Linked DNA regions of Homo sapiens: region 2 is linked to region 1. Evidence: promoter capture Hi-C in 16 types of primary human blood cells and fetal thymus (Javierre and others, 2016). All regions are on one chromosome and are shown on one strand. The core of a region is centred on a gene start or on the middle of the fragment in contact, and the rest is flanking DNA. Distances in the headings are between cores, read along the strand shown. Region 1 holds the start of APOA5 (apolipoprotein A5). Region 2 overlaps SIK3 (SIK family kinase 3).

Region 1 (6,020 bases), core at 1,662-4,161:
TCCTGTTAATCTGAGCTCTCACTTCCTGTCCCAACCTGCTTATTTTTTTTGGTGAAAGAAAATATCATCCCCCTAGTTGCTCAGAAACCTGGGAATCATTGGGATTTTTTCCTCTCCTTCACCTTCCTCATCCAATCAGTCACCAAGTGCTATCAACTCTGCTGCCTTAGTAGCCCTCAATATATACTTACCTATCAACCATCACTGCTATGCCATACTTCAGGCCTTCATTTCTCACTTGGATTATTAAAATATCCCTAAATAGTTCCTCTGCCTTCTCTCTGGCCACCCTCCTGAGTGATCTCTCCATCATGTACCTTTCAGTGACTGCTTGCACAAGCCCCTTTGTGACTTGGTCATAGTCTGCTCTCTTGAACCACCAGAGCCAAGCACCTGGGTTCTGATTCTGGTTGCAACTCTTACTGCGTGATGATGGACAGGCCACTTGATCTCCTCAAACCTCAGTTCCTAAATCAAATGAATGATTGAATTCAGTCACTTAACTTTGTATGTAGTAGGTAGGCACTGTGCAAAACATACTAGTGGATATAGAGATGAATAAGAAAAAGCCCCTGCACTCAAAGAGCTCTCGGATTCATCAACAAATTATTGTGCAGTTAGATAGTAAGTGCTATAATCCAGGAATATACAGTGTTGTGTGAATAATGTGGAATCAGTTTATCTCCAGAGCAGAAAAAGGTGAAGGCCGAAGAAGGCATTCAGAGTGATACTGGAGCTGTGTAGCAGGGGCTACTACTGTTCCCTCAAATCCTTTCTTCTCTTCTTCCTGAGTAATAGAGTCCTTTTTCAGCTAGGCATACAGCCATCCAAAATAAAAACTATATTTCCCAGCCTCCTTTTCAGCTAAGTGTAGCCATGTGACTAAGTTGTGGCCAATGGGATGTCAGTACAAGTGGTAATGGCAATATCTGGGATGTGTCTTTAAAAGGAAGGAACATGTCCTTCTCCTTTTCCTCCTTCCTGTTCCCTGGGAGGTGAACTTGGTAGCTGGAGGTGAAGCAGCTGGAACTTGGATATGAGCGTCTTGTTGATGATAATAGTGCAACAAGATAAAAGCAGCCCGAGCTGGCCTACATTTACATGAGAAGGAAATAAGACTCCATTTTGTTTAAGCTATTCTCTTGCATATATATATACACATATATATCAGCTAAGTGTAGCCATGTGACTAACTTGTGGCCAATGGGATGTCAGTATGAGTGGTAAGAGCAGTATCTTGTATATATATATGTGTATATATACACACACACATATATATACATATATGTATGCAAGAATATAAAATATACATGTGTGTGTGTATATATATACACACATATATATGTCCCTTGCAGCCAAGTCTAATTCTAACTAATACAAACTAACTCTAAAAAATGAATATATATTCACCAGGGGATAGGCTATTTCAAGCAGAGGGAAGCCTGTATAAAGGCTCAGGGAATGCCGTGGTTTTATGTGGCAGCAGATGAGACTGGAAATGAGTCAGGATGAGCCACAGTGGAGGATGAATTAAATGGGCAGGAGTGTGGTAGAAAGACCTGTTGGAGGCTATGAATGCAATCAAGGTGACAGACAACTGGTGCAATGATGGTAGTGGAAATGGAGGAGAGGGGATTGATTCAAGATGCATTTAGGACCAAGAATCGGGAGCTTGTGAACGTGTGTATGAGTACTGTAGACGGAGTGGGTGTGTCATCAGAGAAGATCTGAGCATTTGGGCTTGCTCTCCTCAGAGGCCCTGCGAGTGGAGTTCAGCTTTTCCTCATGGGGCAAATCTCACTTTCGCTCCAGTTCCTGGGGCTCAGAGTCCCTGGCCCAGATGCCTCTTGCCATCTCATCTTCACCCTGCCTGGCTTCCCTTGCTTGTTCCAGGATTGTTTCATAAAGAGGGATGTGGTTGGTCTTTAACCCTATGAATGCTGGCTGAGGATGCCTGCGGAACCTGTAGTGAAGCTTTCAGGGGCTGCTCGGGTTCTGGCTGGTAGGTGAACACTGTCCATCTTGCCGGCTGGGACACAGTGACTCTGGGTAGTTGTGTAAGAGAGGGGCCCTTGGCAGACAAACAGGTTCTTCTCTGTTGGTGGGCCAGCCAGCAGGTCAGTGGGAAGGTTAAAGGTCATGGGGTTTGGGAGAAACTGGGTGAGGAGTTCAGCCCCATCCCCCGTAAAGCTCCTGGGAAGCACTTCTCTACTGGGGCAGCCCCTGATACCAGGGCACTCATTAACCCTCTGGGTGCCAGGGAAAGGGCAGGAGGTGAGTGCTGGGAGGCAGCTGAGGTCAACTTCTTTTGAACTTCCACGTGGTATTTACTCAGAGCAATTGGTGCCAGAGGCTCAGGGCCCTGGAGTATAAAGCAGAATGTCTGCTCTCTGTGCCCAGACGTGAGCAGGTGAGCAGCTGGGGCAGAGGGATGGGGGTCACAGTCCTAAGGGAGGGCATTGCAGGTGGCCTCAGGGGAGAGCCTGGGGTGGCCCCTAAGACGTCCTCTTGGAACATTTTGGCAGAGTTGCCTCTTCGCCCTCATTATGGCTCAGTTTTTCCACCATGAAATGGGAGGGAGGGAGACAGGTGGGCAGGGGAGAGGTGGTAGAAGTGGCCTAGAGAACTGTTCCTGGGGTCTGGGACCTTTGCGAAGGGGTTAGAGCACCACGCTCCCTGCTATGTGACTGAGGTAGCAAGAGCACGCCCTCTTCCCATGTCTGAGGAAGACACCCTAGCCTCCTTGACTCACCTAGGTCAGTCCTCTTGAGCCCCAACAGCTCTGTGCTCCCCAGCCCAAGGAAGGGGTAACAGGATTTCGGGCAGTTGCCCCTGCAGAGGCCCCCTGGGCAAGTCCCCTGCGCCATGTCCCTTCGTCTCCTTCTTCCCCTAACCAGGCCTCCCTCCACCTGTCTTCTCAGAGCAGGTAATGGCAAGCATGGCTGCCGTGCTCACCTGGGCTCTGGCTCTTCTTTCAGGTGGGTCTCCGACCCTGACTTCAACGTGGGGGTGTGGGTGGAGGCTGGCCAGAGGGCCCTGTCCACCCTGGGGGAGGAGAGCCCAGGCCCTGATTACCTAGTCCCTCTCCACAGCGTTTTCGGCCACCCAGGCACGGAAAGGCTTCTGGGACTACTTCAGCCAGACCAGCGGGGACAAAGGCAGGGTGGAGCAGATCCATCAGCAGAAGATGGCTCGCGAGCCCGCGTGAGTGCCCAGGGGAAGGGGTGTAGGCGAAGGGAGGAGACAGCTGGGCCATGCCATGATGACCTGCCTCTGCTGCCTCAACCTCTGTGGCCGCTGCTGGGACAGAGGAAAGGAGCGGTGCTAGCTCTGTCTGCAGATCCCGGCCATCCTGGGCTCTTTAGCGCCCTCTGCCTGCAGCCCCCGCCTTGACAACTCCGTAGCTGTTGCCCCCTTGCTCACTGAGGCGCGGGACCTGGGATCAATCGGGAGGACGCCCGCTGCAGTCCCCAGAATCAAAGGATGATGTGGCGCATCTATGTTTCTTTGGAGAGTGTTGTAGGTCTGGATTTGTATGGGCAATGTGTTTGTGCTTCGTGCGTGAGTTGTTACTGGCCAGGGCTAGGACAAGAGCCCTCGACCCTGGGGCCAACGCCCTGCGTCCTTGGTTCCCCCAGAGGATCAGTGCGCGATGACTTGGGGACAAAGGAGATGATGGAGGCTAGCAGTCTGACGGCCTGGATATCTGTCCCCTTCTCCAGGACCCTGAAAGACAGCCTTGAGCAAGACCTCAACAATATGAACAAGTTCCTGGAAAAGCTGAGGCCTCTGAGTGGGAGCGAGGCTCCTCGGCTCCCACAGGACCCGGTGGGCATGCGGCGGCAGCTGCAGGAGGAGTTGGAGGAGGTGAAGGCTCGCCTCCAGCCCTACATGGCAGAGGCGCACGAGCTGGTGGGCTGGAATTTGGAGGGCTTGCGGCAGCAACTGAAGCCCTACACGATGGATCTGATGGAGCAGGTGGCCCTGCGCGTGCAGGAGCTGCAGGAGCAGTTGCGCGTGGTGGGGGAAGACACCAAGGCCCAGTTGCTGGGGGGCGTGGACGAGGCTTGGGCTTTGCTGCAGGGACTGCAGAGCCGCGTGGTGCACCACACCGGCCGCTTCAAAGAGCTCTTCCACCCATACGCCGAGAGCCTGGTGAGCGGCATCGGGCGCCACGTGCAGGAGCTGCACCGCAGTGTGGCTCCGCACGCCCCCGCCAGCCCCGCGCGCCTCAGTCGCTGCGTGCAGGTGCTCTCCCGGAAGCTCACGCTCAAGGCCAAGGCCCTGCACGCACGCATCCAGCAGAACCTGGACCAGCTGCGCGAAGAGCTCAGCAGAGCCTTTGCAGGCACTGGGACTGAGGAAGGGGCCGGCCCGGACCCCCAGATGCTCTCCGAGGAGGTGCGCCAGCGACTTCAGGCTTTCCGCCAGGACACCTACCTGCAGATAGCTGCCTTCACTCGCGCCATCGACCAGGAGACTGAGGAGGTCCAGCAGCAGCTGGCGCCACCTCCACCAGGCCACAGTGCCTTCGCCCCAGAGTTTCAACAAACAGACAGTGGCAAGGTTCTGAGCAAGCTGCAGGCCCGTCTGGATGACCTGTGGGAAGACATCACTCACAGCCTTCATGACCAGGGCCACAGCCATCTGGGGGACCCCTGAGGATCTACCTGCCCAGGCCCATTCCCAGCTCCTTGTCTGGGGAGCCTTGGCTCTGAGCCTCTAGCATGGTTCAGTCCTTGAAAGTGGCCTGTTGGGTGGAGGGTGGAAGGTCCTGTGCAGGACAGGGAGGCCACCAAAGGGGCTGCTGTCTCCTGCACATCCAGCCTCCTGCGACTCCCCAATCTGGATGCATTACATTCACCAGGCTTTGCAAACCCAGCCTCCCAGTGCTCATTTGGGAATGCTCATGAGTTACTCCATTCAAGGGTGAGGGAGTAGGGAGGGAGAGGCACCATGCATGTGGGTGATTATCTGCAAGCCTGTTTGCCGTGATGCTGGAAGCCTGTGCCACTACATCCTGGAGTTTGGCTCTAGTCACTTCTGGCTGCCTGGTGGCCACTGCTACAGCTGGTCCACAGAGAGGAGCACTTGTCTCCCCAGGGCTGCCATGGCAGCTATCAGGGGAATAGAAGGGAGAAAGAGAATATCATGGGGAGAACATGTGATGGTGTGTGAATATCCCTGCTGGCTCTGATGCTGGTGGGTACGAAAGGTGTGGGCTGTGATAGGAGAGGGCAGAGCCCATGTTTCCTGACATAGCTCTACACCTAAATAAGGGACTGAACCCTCCCAACTGTGGGAGCTCCTTAAACCCTCTGGGGAGCATACTGTGTGCTCTCCCCATCTCCAGCCCCTCCCTCTGGGTTCCCAAGTTGAAGCCTAGACTTCTGGCTCAAATGAAATAGATGTTTATGATAGAAGTTTGCCTGGCGTGACTCTCATTTGGACCATGTCTGAAAGCAGTGGCCTCACCACTATCCCCAAAGCACACCCATCACCCACTCCATTCCCTTGCTGCTCTTTCTCATCCACCCACTCCCAGTCCAGGTCTGTCAAAGGGGGTCTGGCTGGGCTCTGCTTCAGGGATCCTGGCTAGACAACGGCTGTCTGTCACACCTGGCAGGAGGGCCTGGGTTACGGGCCCTTCCTCTGCACCTGCACTGTTCACTAGCCTGCTCCCCCACAGGACACTGTGCATGGAATGCAGGCTGTGTCTGGAAGAGCTGTGGCCCTGGTGGACCTAAGATTCCTGAGGTGGGCTGCCTCCTTTGTTCCTGCTGTTCTAGAGTTTGAATGGCCTCTTTTTATGCCGGACTCTCTTCTGGGGACTCCCCTCACTCAGGGGCACCAATGCTCCCTATAGATCCCCTGGGAACTGAAACTGGGGTGTGGTGGAGGACGTGGAAAGGGTAAACACAGCTCCTTGTCTTTGGACTTCCCTGTCCGGCCCCCTTTCCTCCCAGCTCAGCCTACTGTCCCCGGGTTCTCAGCACCTGCCTGCTCCCCAACCCCATAGC
Region 2 (6,020 bases), core at 2,172-4,671, 110 kb before region 1:
CCATCCCCTGAGGCCGTAAAGATACCTGCTTTTTTTTTTTTTTTTTAAATAAAAACGTGATAGTTTTACCTTTCACATTAGGGCTATAATCCACCTGGAATTAATTTGGGGATAGAGTGTGAGGATGGCAGCCTCTGTAATTTTTTTCCATATGAATAACGAGTTGTTCCTGTGCCACTTTTTGAGAAATTTATCCTTTTCCCATTGATATACAGTGTCTACCATTCTTTTCTATGCATGTTTTTAAAAGAAACTTGACGCAGTATTCCTGAAGCATTATGTGTCTTTGGGAATTAACATAAGCAGAGCAAAGGGTGGCAGTCAATAATAAAATGAAAAACAGTAAACTGTAATAACTAAGGAATTTGCAAGTTTTTTGTTTTTTTGAGACAGTGTTTTGCTCTTGTCACCCAGGCTAGAGTGCAGGGTGCAATTTCGACTCTGGTGCAACCCTCCGCCTCCTGGGTTCAAGCAATTCTCCTGCCTCAGCCTCCCGAGTAGCTGGGATTTCAGGCACCTGCCACCACACCTGGCTAATTTTTTATTTTTAGTAGAGACGGGGTTTTGCCGTGTTGGCCAGGCTGGTCTTAAACTCCTGACCTCAAGTGATCCGCCAGCCTTGGCCTCCCAAAGTTCTGGGATTACAGGTGTGAGCCACTGTGCCTGGCAAATTTTTAAATTTCAATAAAAATAATTATGGGATGTACGTGAACTTAAATATAAACACATACATGATGCTGAAAGCACAATGTGGGGCTGGATTTTGAGGGCACTGAGAACTGGCGTTATAGGCTGCATCTGATTCATACTAATTTTTCTTTAACCTTTATACTTGGGAATGTTACTTTTGAACCTCACGTCTCAGGCATAAAACAAAAATAATGCTCATCTCAATGAGGTAATAAATACAAGGTGCTGTAGCGCAGCACTCAACAGAAGGTCCTTTGAAAAACAACTGTTTAATACTGCAAAGTGCAGCACAAATAGGAAAACTGTTGCACTGGAGAGATGAGTCAAGGACAGTCCAGTTCCAAGTCTTTCTGGGATACATGGCTCCCTCCAGGGCTCTTGCCACTCACCTGCATGGCCACGACGTTCGTTTCTAAGTACTCTGAATATATTTGTATATAACTTAGGATTAGTATCTGTTGGTTGTCATCAATCTTGGTAAGAAATGCCTAATTTTATTCACAGCTTGACATTGTAGATAACTCTGAATGGATCTGGATTATATTTGTAGTCCATTTCTGTGATGTAGCCTGTCTTTACAACAAATAAACAAAAATTCTGAGGGGAAAATGATACCATTTCTCATCGAGAATAATTATGTCATCATTTGTTTTCCCTCAGATCAAAGTTACATAACACTTGGATGAGATTACATGGATGCTGTAAGCCACCTTTTTCTGCTTTTCTGCTCTCTCGGCTTCCTTGTTACATTTTCCTGACTTTCTTCCTTTAGCCGCGCTTTCTCTCTCCTTTTTGCTGCATCCTCTTTCTGTTCTCGCACCTAGGGAATAGGAAGTACCTCTGGGTGTTTTCGAAGCCTTAATTCTCATCCTTCCCTTTTCTCTACTTTTTCTTTCAAAAATATTTTATCCTTTTACTACTATAATTCAGTTTCTCAGAATATCTTCACTTAAATTTCTGATCACCTTCTCAAACTCAGGACATAAAGAAAAAGTAATTTTTTTTCTTCCCAAACCAACTTCTGCTTTCCTTAAGTCTGTCATCTGCTCAGGGCCATATTCTCTACTTCTCCTTCTTTTTCATCCCATATATTCTGTTTGTTATCAAGTACTGTCCGCTCCTTTCAGAACATCTTTTGAATTGTTTTTTTCATTTTCAATATCTCATCTGATCACAGCCTTCAATATTCACCTCACACCTAACCTAATCTTGCTTTCTAGTTTATTTTACCACTTCACCTGCCTGCTCAGAAGTCCTAGCAACTCCTTATTGCCTGTAAGTGTGGCTCTCAAACCTCTTCAGAAAGAACTGTGTTTTACTGGTACCTTTATATTCACACCAAAAGCATAAGTGACAAAAGGAAATACAGATAAGTTGGACCTCATCAACATTTAAAACTTTTGTGCATCAAAGGACATCATCAAGATAATGAAAGTCCACAGAATGGGAGAAAATATTTGCAAATCATATATCTAATAAGAGATTTGTATCCAGAATGTATAAAGAACACTCACAACTCAATAATAAAAAGATAACCAATTTTAAACTGCACAAAAGATTTGAATAGACATTTCTCCAAAGCAGATATACAAATGGCTGAAAAGCACATGAAAAGATGCTCAATATTATTAGCCATCAGGGAAATATAAATGAAAACCACTGTAAGATATCATTTCACATCCACTGGGACAGCTGAATTGACAATAATAAGTAATAATAATAAAGACAATAAGTGTTGGCAAAGATGTGGAGAAATTGGAATCCTTGTACGTTGCTGGTAGGGATGTATAATGGTACGGCCACTTTGGATAGCAGTTTGGATACTTCCTAAAAAGTTAAGCAGAGTTACCATATGACCCAGCAGTTCCACTCCCAGGTATATATCCAAGAGAAATGAAACCATATGGCCACACAGAAACTCACATAAATGTTCATAGCAGCATTATTTTTAGTCGCTGCAAAGTGGAAACAACCTGAATGTTCAACAGATGATGAATGGATAAATAAAATGTGGAATGTCCATACCATGGATGTTATTCAGCAGTAAAATAGACTCAAGTGCTGACATAGGCAACAACATGGATGAACCTCCAAAATATTATGCTCAGTGAAAGAAGCCAGACACTAAAGCTTATATATTGTATGATTCCATTTATGTGAAATGTCCAAAATTGACAAGTCTCATAGAGACAGAAAGTAGAAAGCCTAGGGCTGGGCCATTGGTGAAAGACTTGAAGGGTGTTGGGGAGTAACTCCTAATTAGCACAGGGTTTCTTTTTGGGGTGATGAAAATGTTCTAAAATTTCTTCTTTGGTTTTTTCACTGCCTTTTCCTTACAAGGTGAAAAATGTTCTAAAACTGATTGTGGTCATCGTCGCACAACTCTGTGAATGCGCTAAAAGCCGCTGGGCATTACACTTTCAATGCGTGAATTGTATGGGATATGGAATACAAGAAATATGTTATGGCCAGGTGCAGCGGCTCATGCCTGTAATCCCAGCGCTTCGGAAGGCCGAGGTGGGAGGATCATGTGAGCTCAGGAGTTCGAGACCAGCCTGGGCAACACAGCAAGACCCTGTCTCTATTTTATTCTATGTTTTAAAATTTAAAAATTAAAAAGAAAAAAGAATAACATTTTATAAGAAAATATTTTATGAGAGACTTATAAAAGAGACATTAAGAATATGAAGTAATATATTTCGTATTCCTTATCTCAATAATGCTGTAGGGAAAAAACAATTGAAATAAAAGCAGTAAATGAGTGGAGCATGGAGAGTGTGTCATGAGCCAAAGGTTATAATAAATTCATAATCAAGTTTTTTTGTATCTGAAGTCTAATAAAATTTTTAAATGTGGAGGAAAAAAAAAGGAAAGAAAAAATAGTAATGGTTCACAGGATGAAGTCCAAGGTCTTCATTCTGTCATTTGAAGCTGTATTTTATCTGGCATGATGCTGCTGTGCACTCTTTATTTCTTGCCATATGCCCCTACAAACCCTTTATTGTACCCAGGGCAGTGTCTTGCTTGTCACTTGAACTTAGCGAGTTAATTCTAAGTGTTCTGCCCTTGCTCGTGCTCCCTCCTGACTGCCATTCAGAGCACCCTTTCCACCTTCCTTCATTGCCTCTCCAGATCCTGGCCATTCAACCAAGTTCTGCTTCCTTTGAGCCTTTCCCTAGAACTATGTTTTATGCCTTTGGTTTGTTAGAAGATCTAACACATTGCTATTCCCATTGGAAGAGTTCCATAAATACATGTTACATAAAGAGTGAAGGAAATGGAGGAACTTACTTAGAGACTTATAAAAGAGACATTAAGAATAGGAAGCTTTAGTAAATAATGAAAGATATTGTGAATTAGAGTAGCTCCAGAGCCAAAATAAGATGAAAAAGCCTATTAAATAGAAATGGTTTTCTAGGTTCAAGTTCAGATCAAACTTAAGCTCTAAAGCTTTTCTTGGCTTGGTGCAGTGGCTGTTGCTTGTAATCCCAGCACTTACGAAGGCCTAGTCAGGAGGATCGCTTGAGCCTAGGAGTTTGAGACCAGCCTGGACAACATAGCAAGACCCCCATCACTACAAAAAAATTTTTTTTAAATAGCTAGGCATGGTGGTGTTTGCCTGAAGTCCCAGCTACTTAGGAGGCTGAGGCAGGAAGATGGCTTGAGCCCAGGAGGTAAAGGCTTCAGTGAACTATGATTGTGCCACTGCACTCCCATCTGGGAAACAGAGCAAGACTCCATCTCCAAAAAAAAAGTTTTTCTTTACCTTTTTCTTTGGCATTTCTGACTTAAGCCAGTGAGAATTCTTCCTCATTCTTTTTTACTCATTGCTTGAATTTGTGTTATGAGAATTTTTTTCCTCCAACTTGGATGATCTTTCAATTTTTTCCAGTTGTCTATACATGTAGATAACTGAAAACAGCAAAGCTCTTAGTGATTCTGTTCCATGTCTATCTGTTCCCCACCTCCATTTCCTACCACACACCCCAGCATTCCCCTAGTACATCACTAAACTATCAACAGAACCTAAAATAGACTAGTTTGTTTTAACTGTATTTTTCTTTCCAGTCCTCTTAAAATGTGCAGCAAAATGTCCCCAAAGGCAAGCAGCTAAGAGAATGAAGAGGAGGTATTCTCCCATCACAGTTACTCAGTCCCAGAAGTATTGATTGGAAGGCACTGAATTTTCAAAATGACTTCCAGATTTAGTACATGGTAATAATTTGAGGCTTTCCCACACGGATAATTTAAATGTTCAGAAAATAAGTTATGTTATAGCTGAATGGGCAGCAAATTAGACAGAATTTTAACTTACAAGATGCATAGCAATAGTGAAGATTAATGTGAAATACTAGTAAAGAGCCACTGGTAGGGAAGAGAAGACAGCGATATGCTTTCAATGAAACCGTCAATTTATAATAATATGTATATTGAAAAGGGAGAGTGGATCAGATCCTGTTAGGTTTGGTACGTTAAAGAAAGAATTAGGATACCGCAGGCTCAGTAATTAAAGGAATCTGCCCATAATTGGGGGGTAAAAGGTGTCTTGTAGGCAGGGAATAGCAAGATTTTGCTTGAATGTACACCTTAGAGTTGGGAGTAACAATACTTGGAATGATTATAGAAGACCTCTCGACAGGTTTCTGAGACTAGAGGATTTTGTTTGGTGCATAATAGGAGATGAGAGCAAGCCAGTAGTATTTGGTTGTTGTTGAATCTTACAGAAATCTTGCATTTGGTTATTGGGTCTAGCTGTTGAAGCCAGCTGTTTGGATGTAACATAGTGGAAGCAGGTGCTTCTGCAGATGTGGCTCTCTCTAGTTGTCTGGCTGTAATATATCATTCATTCTCATACACTCATTTCTCATATAAAATCCTTATAACTATTAGCAGTCTAAGCCTGCAGACATTGCTGAAGCTGGTTCCCTTTGATATTGTTTTCTTTGTAACAGTTTCCTGTTTGGTAGATAAAATAACAAGCTCACACTATTAGGTTTGTGCCTTCACCTCCCTGGCAAAGTAACATGCTAGAAAGGTTACTAAACATTAGTGGTTCAAAATGAGAAGTCTGTACATTTTATCTGCTTATAGGCGAATTTAAACTCAACTGGTTTAAATTCATTGCTTAGCCTGTTGCATGCTCCATTGAAAACACAAACAAAAAACTCCATGATTCTTCTAGCCATGATTCTTCTAGAGTTTGTTATCCAGTCATTCCAGTGCCAGAATCCATCAGGCAGAACAGAATCATTCGCATTTCTCCTCTGCACTGGAGAGAAGAGGAAGGCTGATCATGGAAAAGGACCTGGTGAAGGTTTTTTGCAAATCTA

Evidence for each region. The method cuts DNA at HindIII sites, captures the fragments that hold promoters and counts their contacts. A CHiCAGO score of 5 or more calls a contact.
Region 2: a fragment that was not itself captured here is called in contact with the fragment with the promoter of APOA5 in region 1 in 8 of 17 cell types (naive CD8 T cells, naive CD4 T cells, activated CD4 T cells and 5 more); the score reaches 7.7 in naive CD8 T cells.

The regions. Positions count from the first base shown.
Region 1 is chr11:116,788,770-116,794,789 of GRCh38, reverse strand. APOA5 (apolipoprotein A5) reads left to right here and starts at 2,911. Exons shown (of 3, transcript NM_001371904.1): 1 at 2,911-2,978; 2 at 3,093-3,204; 3 at 3,723-5,423. The coding sequence starts at 2,930. The coding sequence ends at 4,662. The HindIII fragment of the contact is 6,000 bases long and covers 1,977-6,020 here.
Region 2 is chr11:116,902,014-116,908,033 of GRCh38, reverse strand. All of the region lies in intron 4 of SIK3 (SIK family kinase 3), which reads left to right. Among named protein-coding and RNA genes, the nearest start is that of APOA1, 67 kb to the right of the region's middle. The HindIII fragment of the contact is 1,197 bases long and covers 2,823-4,019 here.